Linked DNA regions of Homo sapiens: region 2 is linked to region 1. Evidence: promoter capture Hi-C in 16 types of primary human blood cells and fetal thymus (Javierre and others, 2016). All regions are on one chromosome and are shown on one strand. Each heading gives the region's core, a stretch centred on a gene start or on the middle of the fragment in contact. The rest is flanking DNA. Distances are from core to core; before and after follow the strand shown.

Evidence for each region. Contacts are between HindIII fragments. The CHiCAGO score rates a contact against its expected background, and 5 or more counts as called.
Region 2: a fragment that was not itself captured here is called in contact with the fragment with the promoter of IMPA2 in region 1 in 1 of 17 cell types (total CD4 T cells); the score reaches 5.5 in total CD4 T cells.

The regions. Positions count from the first base shown.
Region 1 is chr18:11,980,028-11,983,826 of GRCh38, reverse strand. It overlaps IMPA2 (inositol monophosphatase 2), which reads right to left and starts at 2,320. Exons shown (of 8, transcript NM_014214.3): 1 at 2,062-2,320. The coding sequence starts at 2,157. RefSeq lists silencers at 1,783-3,262, 3,103-3,397. The HindIII fragment of the contact is 12,350 bases long and covers 609-3,799 here.
Region 2 is chr18:10,519,010-10,523,024 of GRCh38, reverse strand. No RefSeq gene overlaps it. Among named protein-coding and RNA genes, the nearest start is that of NAPG, 5.0 kb to the left of the region's middle. The HindIII fragment of the contact is 4,914 bases long and covers 1-4,015 here.

The DNA.
Region 1 (3,799 bases), core at 1,071-3,570:
CTTTACACAGGTTCCGATGACCTCGTGTGGCTTCTGTTTGTCCCAGCAGCAGACCTTCAGGCCATTCCCTCAGCACTGCCCGGCAGGCAGGAAGCATCAGCATAATGCCTGAGGGGGAGCCCCGGGCGGCCCGGGCTTCCTGACCGGACTCCTAATGGCAGCATCTTTATTGCAACCCTCTCCAGCGTTTAAAAAAAGCTTTTTTTGTTGCTGGCAAGTTGCAAAAACATAAAATATCTCTTAAGTTAAAAGTCATAGGAGCCTTAGAACTGTTCCTGCTCTATTGCAAGCTCTTTATGCACATTTGTTAAATAATAACATAAAATTTTAAAATCTTCTGTTTCTTCAAGGATCTAAATTTGAAAACCACAGAAACTCCTAACTTAGCTCGCCAGGGTTTACACAGCAATGTCTGAATCCTAAGCTGGCTTTTCACTGCCTCAAGGAAGAAAAGTTTTACAGTAGAACCTAAAAGTTCCTAAATATCTGGCTGATGCTTGCTCTGGAAGGAAAGCTGGGAGGCAGGGAAGGATGGAAGGAGAACCCGTGTTCCATGCACACAGCAGCTCTGCTTTCCAGGAAGAACGCTTGCACTGAAGCTACAAGCTTCATCTGCCTTGCAGGAAGGTTTAGGGTCCTCCTTTTCCTACAGGAGGGAAAGGTCAAAGGGTGGAGTTTCGCAACACTCTTAAATTCATTCATTCTTTACGGTCTGAGGCTTGGGTTCTTCAAACTACAAAGGGAAGGAAGGCCCTTCAACAAAAAATGAGTCTACTTAGTATTGCAGATTAATTTTTAAACAGGATTAGAGGATTTGCACCAAGGTAAAGCACTATCCACTTTATGACGACTCACTTCAAATTTAAGATTGATAACAGTCCGATTTCAACATCTAGGGAAACTGGTAGAGCATTTTCGGACTGTCAGACCTCAAAAAAGAAAACAAATGTTTGAATATAAAAGGCCAATCTGCTCTCAGCACACCTCCTGTCTCTAAAATCCCCGAAAACAATCACTTTTTTTTTTTTTTTTTGAGACGGAGTTTTGTTCTTGTTGCCCAGGCTGGTGTGCAATGGCGCGATCTCAGCTCACTGCAACCTTCGCCTCCCAGGTTCAAGTGATTCTCCTGCCTCAGCCTCCCAAATAGCTGGAACTAAGGCACGCGCCACCATGCCCAGCTAATTTTGTATTTTCAGTAGAGACGGGGTTTCACCATGTTGGTCAGGCTGGTCTCGAACTCCTGACCTCAAGTGGTCCACCCGCCTCGGCCTCCCAAAGTGCTGGGATTACAGGCGTGAGCCACTGCGCCCGGCCCACAATCACATCCTAAGAGACAAACATGGAGTAAGCCATCTTACAGTCCTGGGAGAACCAACACTCGCTTGCCTACCACTACCGTCGGTGTGTCAGGCACTGCTAAAGGTACTGAGGAAAGTGGAAGGAACAATCACAAAAATGAAAAAGAGAAGAGAGGAACTGCACTCCATTTTAAACTCTGCTCGCTGGTTTTCGGTAGCTCTGCGGCTCGGTTTTCATCCTTCCGGGCAGTGTAACAAGTTCCTCCTGAACTCTGAGTCCGTGGCCGTCGCGGAGCTGAGCCACTTTCAGGGTGTGGGTCAGAGTAAGTTTGGGTTGAGGATGCTGCAGCCAGGACAATCAAACGGCAGCCCAGCCAGATCCCCACGCGGCTGGGGCTTAGCCCCGGGCTTCCTACCGCGAGCTGAATCCGTTCATAGGTCCTTAAAAATCAACAGCCCCGTACGCTACCCCTGGAGAGATTTCTACATTCTGACCACTCACTCAAACGCAAAGGTCACGTTAGCCGCTGAACTCCAAAGCAGAGGGGCTCGCCGCCAGGGCTCCGGGAGTTGGAGAAGGGCGCGGGAGGTGTGTCCAGGACACCAGCACAAAGGCTCCTTTCACCGCTCCGCGCCCCGCGCCCTCGGGTGCGGACCCTGGGCGCCCGCCGGCTGCGCGCCAGGACCCCGCCACTCCAGGCGGCTCCCAAGGCCCACGCGCTTCTGCTCCGCCCGGACTTCCGAGCCCAGCCGTGGCGCTCACCTGTCCTGCCCGCAGCGCCAGCTGCACGGCCGCCTGGAAGCACTCCTCCCAGGGGCCGGCCGCCAGCGCCGCCTGGTCCTCGCCGCTCGGCTTCATCGCGGCCTCGCCGGGCCCCTCCACCTCCAGCCCCCCTCGGCGGGACTCCGGCTCCCACCGGATCCCGCCGTCCCGCCGCCAGGCTCCACACTCCCTGTGCCTGCTCCCGCAGCTCTGTGCCTAGTCCGCCGCCCGTCCCACACCTGCGCTGGCGGGAAGGGCAGCCAGCGGGCCGCGGGAGCCGTGCGTCCTGCTTTCCGCTCCCCACCCTCCGCCCCGCCCCGTGCCGAGCCCAGCCCAGCTCCCCGCCCCGCTCCCCGCCCAGCTCCCTGCTCCCGCGTCCGGCCCCGCTCTGCATTCCCCACCTCGCCCCTCGCAGAGCTCGGCCCCGCCCATTCCCCCCTCTTCCCCGCCCCTTGACGCTCCCGGCCCCGCCCCGCACCCGTTGCTGCTCCTGGCCTCTTCCCGCGCCGTGCCCGGCCCCGTCCTGCACCGCCCCTCCCGCTCCCGGCTGCGCCCCGTACCTGGCCCCGCCCCTCTGGGCTAGCCCTGAACACAAATCAGTGCCGAGCCTGGTCCCTCTCCGCTCCGCGCTTTACCTCCAGCCCCGCCCCTGTGGTGCAGCATCACCCTCCCCGCTCGAGGCGGACCCAACCCTGCTCCGCCGTGCCCCGTCCCGCAGCGCGCAGAGCGGGCTCCAACTCCTCTGAGCCTCGAGCCCCGCCTCCCTCAAGTTGAGCCGGGCCCGTGTCCAAGCCCCGCCCCACCGCCGCGCGCTGAGACAGGCCCCACCCCCGGCTCGTGCAGAACTCCGTACTGTTCTGGGTCAAGCGCGCGGAGGGCGGCTTGGGCCACCGCAGAGCTGGGAGGGAGGAGCTAGGAGCGGCTGTTTTGGGGGCCCGGGGCAGCTACTGTCTGGGTGGGACCGTGCGGTGCCGGCCCAGCCCCGGAGGTGCCGGGGAGCGTCCCGTCCGCGGATCCCCGCGCACGTGGTGCCGGGCGTCCCTTCATGGTCTGTGGCCGGATTCGGGCTCGAGCGCCAGGGGCGGCTGGGCCAGCACCTTCCGACCGGTCGCTTTTTGTTCGCGGAGGCCGCTGGGCGCTAGGCGTCGTTCTCGGCCTCGCAGGAGCTCAGACCGCCGAGCGCACAAGGCCGCAGTGTTCCTGCAAGCGGCCGCCCCGCGCGGCAAGTTTGGTCGCAAACAAGCTCTCCCTCCGCTAACCCCAAACACTGCGAGGACAGCGGCTGGACTTTATAAACTCTTCACACCCAAAACTCGAATTTGGAGACGGAACTGTGATTGCGATGAGCCTCTGTAGTGAGGAATGACCTTTCCAACCTTGGATTCTCTTGCTGGCCCATGTAAACATAAATAGGAGGCATTTCCCGAAAGAGTGGCCGCGTGGTTTCCAAGGTTAATTTCATAAGCCGCTCTGCCTGCCCGTTTTATAAAAGATGCTAACCCACGTAAAATTATTCTGGAGTGCCACTTCGGAGTCTGGGAGAATAATGGGAGTTTGTACAAGAACCTTGATGGGGCATTTTTTACACACTTAACCTAATAATGAAATTAAACGTTTTTAGTTTTTGAGTACTTTATGCTGAAACACCTTGTGGAGAAACTTTAAGTGTACCGTATAAGAGACAAAAAGTACAAACAGGAGGAATTACAAACAGGAAATACAAACACGCAGATATGGG
Region 2 (4,015 bases), core at 371-2,870, 1.5 Mb after region 1:
GCTACCACCAGAACCTCAGCAAAAGTTGTCTTTGTGACTTCAACTTACCTCTTGCCTCCTCTCCTAAGGCTCTTTAGACGCTCATGTCCTCCCTCACCTACCCCGTCAACATACAGACTTGCTGGCTGCTGGCCCAAGTGATTCCATCTGAGCCAATCCTCTCCTCTAGTTCTAGAAACTCTTTTTCTTTATCCTGCCTCAATAAAAATGTGCATTCCTGAGTGATCTACTTGTTTTGGATGTGACTAAAATGATTCACATCAAAGTGTGAATGAGGCTTAAAATAGAGCTTGCAAACCCCATTCCTTCTCTCATGGTGGGCTTAAGTCTCTGAGAGTTCTTTAAGCCTGCATCCCCAGGTTCCTTGTCTACACAAACCTGCTTCCTTCCCCTAGCCTAGTCTGCTGCCAGGAAGCAAAATCCTTGGACCTACCTCCCACAGCTGAATGTTCCAGTCAAATAAAAGGTCTTTGTCATTTCTTGGAGAGAGGGTTTGATGGGTCAAATGAGCTCTATTTCAAATCAGGAATCATAAATAAGGAAACATAAGAGCTCCTATATCGCTAAGTTTTCTTTGTTTGTTTAATTGCTAGTAGCCTGACTGTGTAATTTTACCCTTTTCCCCCACAAATATACTGTTATGTTATACAAGAGATACACTTCTGAGACCCAGCCCAAGAGGTTAGCCATGAATCATAAAATCATTTCTCTGGGAAAATATATTCTGAGTTATAAATAACGAATTTACAAAAAACCTTTGGAACAAATTCTGCTATCATTTGACAGTTCCTTTCATCAGAATAGGATTTTAGAAGATTGTTCTTGGCTTTTTTTCTGATAAAACTAATAGAAGCCATTATGATCTGTATTTTTTTTTCTGGTTAAGTGTTAATGAATACATTGACTTTTAAAAATCACCACTGAATCTCTATGAGATTAATATGGAGAATTCGTTCTCCAGATTCCTGTGTCCAATGCCTTCTTAGCAGCTCCACCTAGACATCTAAAATGTCATACATAATCTGTTCAAATCTGAGCTCCTGATGCTCCCATACCTGCTCTCCCTTCAGGCTCAGCCATGCTGGGTTCATGGCAGCTTCACCCTCTCCTTGCCCAAACACTTGGAGTCATGCTCCTCTGCTCTTTCTGTCGCACAACACATGCAATCTGTAGGAAATTCTGTCGACTTTGCCTCCAAAAAGTGCCCAGAGGCAACCACGTCTCCTCATCTCCCTGTCCACAGCCACCGCGTAGTCTGTTAGTTGCCATCGTCTGTGACTGCACTCACCATCTGTGTTCAGAACACAGTGCAGTGCGAATTCCAGAGCAGAACTCAGTCAATTTTGGCTGAAAGTCCTGTGTCATTACGGAAGAAGAGGAAGAAGCATTTGGACACTTGGAAGGTGTTTTCTCTCAAGTCTGGCCATGGCCCTTCTTCAAGGTAATTTCTTTTCTTTCTTTCTTTCTTTCTTTTTTAAATTATTCTTTCTTTTTTTTTAGAGACAGGGTCTTACTCTGTCACCCAGGTTGGAGTGCAGTGGCATAATCATGGCTCACTGCAGCCTCAAACTCCTAGCCTCAAGCAATCCTCCTGCCTCAACCTCCCAAGTAACTGGGACTGTGGGTATGTGCCACCACACCTGGCTATTTTTTATTATTATTTTTAGTAGCGACAAGGCCTCACTATGTTGCCCAGGCTGATCTCAAACTTCTGGGCTCAAGCAACCCTCTTGCCTCAGCCTCCCAGAGTGCTGGGATCACCAGTGCACCCCCCTGCACCCAGCCCTTTCCAGTGATTTCTTTGGCTTGTATTTGCTTCTTTTTGCTGGGCTTTCTCCACATTCCTCTCAACCTCTCCTGCTCTAACCTTTCACAGAACCATCATTATTAATTTTTTTATTTTCAATTGAATTTCAAAATCAAAGCAAGAGAATGAATGTTTGAAAAGGAGAAAGAGAACGGGGCCACACCCACAGGTGCCAGCCATTGAAGACCAGGTAGACTGGCATCCCCTAACCATAGCATAGCTTCCAGCGCAGCAGGAAGCTGGGCCAGGTGGGGTCGGTGGGGAGACGGGTGCCAAAGGTGCCTGGAGTGAGAGTGGGATTAGCAGCGTGGAGCTTGCCTGAGCTCCCAGGCACCTGATGGATGCTGGCAGCTAAAACCTCCACTAAACCCTAGGGCCCCTGGTCACCATTTGCCAGAAACTCTACAAAGTGCTTTAGAAACACTGTTGTTATCCCATCTCACATATGAGGACTGAAGGTCAGAGAAGCTAAGTAACTTTCCTAAGGTCACACAGCAAGTAAACGGGAAGATGGGGACTTGAACCCAGACCCATCTGACTCCAAATTTATACTTGGCCCACTATAATGGACCAGAAAATGGTCCTTATTTTGTAATAGTTTAATAACCACTCACGCAACACCGCTGCTTAGTTGTATGGACCAATTATTAATTTTCAAATGTTTTTATGGGGGAAAAAATAGTCAGTTTACTACATACCTGGTACTTTACACCTACCTGCTTTGAAATTTTAATAATAATTGGAAAATGAGAGTTGGAAGTTTATTAGGTTTGACTGAAGTAAGTTGTCAAATGGCTGAGAAAGGGCCACCCCTAACAGATGCGCCAAGCATATTATACTGAGAAGTCCCACTTAGGTATACGTTGGCTGGGGAGAGTCCTGGCGTTCATTCCTTCTCCCGCGTAGCCTTATGGGTCTCTTCAGAAAACACATGGTGGCGCTGCCTGCACGTGCCTTTACAAGCTGCAAGCCGTCCAAACAAAAGTGGTTAGTTTCTGCCTCTTGGGATTACAGTCAGATTCTGGCAACATTTCGCATTCATAACTGAACTTTCCACATAAAAGCGATCTCTCTCACTGTTTTGTACACAAAGTGAGGCAGCATTGTCCGAGTACAGTAATGTTGGAAAGAGATGAAGCATTGTAAATGTTTAACAACAGATCTCTGTTAAATCCACTCTAACGAACACAACCGTTTTGATGAATATTATTTTTAAAGAGAGAGAAAAATACAGATCTTCCTTTGCAAGCTATCTTTGAATAAAAGATAAAACCAACACACTGAATTGGCTTAGTGGAAACCCGTCATGTATTTCATTAGACCACTTGCAGATAGCCTAGTGCCAACCTATAAATGTTCTCTCTTGAAAACCACATCCCATAGATATACAGCAATCATTTTCTTTCAAGGAGGATATATTCACGCAGTTACATTTTGTACAAATATAAAGTAGGCAAAATTGAAAGAATACAACATAAAACATGACTCATTAATGAAGTTTGTGAATTACTCATTCACAAACTGCATTAATGAATTTTTTTAAATAACATGTCTTCCAAATTAAGAATTCCTCAAGAAGTGCACGTTTGGAAGCTGCCAGGAATAAAGAGCTGTGGACTGGGTTTATGCTATTCATTCTTTAGGCACTCATTCAACAAGTATGTGTGGAATGGTTTCTCCATGCAGGCACTGTTCTAGGCTCTGGGAGACAGCCCTGAATGCAGCAGGGATTCACAGAGCTGACATTCTAGCACAGGGCATATGGGTGGGGTTGTGGAGTCCAGTAGGAAACTGGCTAAGGCGGTGTAGACACAGTGCTAGAGGGGGTCAACACTCAGGAAAACAAAGCAGGATGTGGGAATGGGAGGGCACCCGTGAGTGTGGGGTGAGTTTCTTCACCAGGTAGGTGACAATGAAATAAAGCTCTGAAGGAGTGGTGGCCTGAGACCTGGGATATCTGGACAAAGATAGTTGCCGATAAAGAAGGAATAGCAAATTTGTGAGGCAGAGTATGCGGGCGCCTGGCCCCACATTCCAGGGGAGAATGGGGAGGTGACGAGGTTGCAGGGGCCAAGGGTGACTTGGCTAGAAAAGCAACACATGACTCCCTTTGTGAAGATTGGATTAAAATTATGCAATGGTTGCATTAAGTTTGAAAATCTTCAGGGACACATTTCTTGCAACTTCCCTCTACTCGTGTAATTAGAA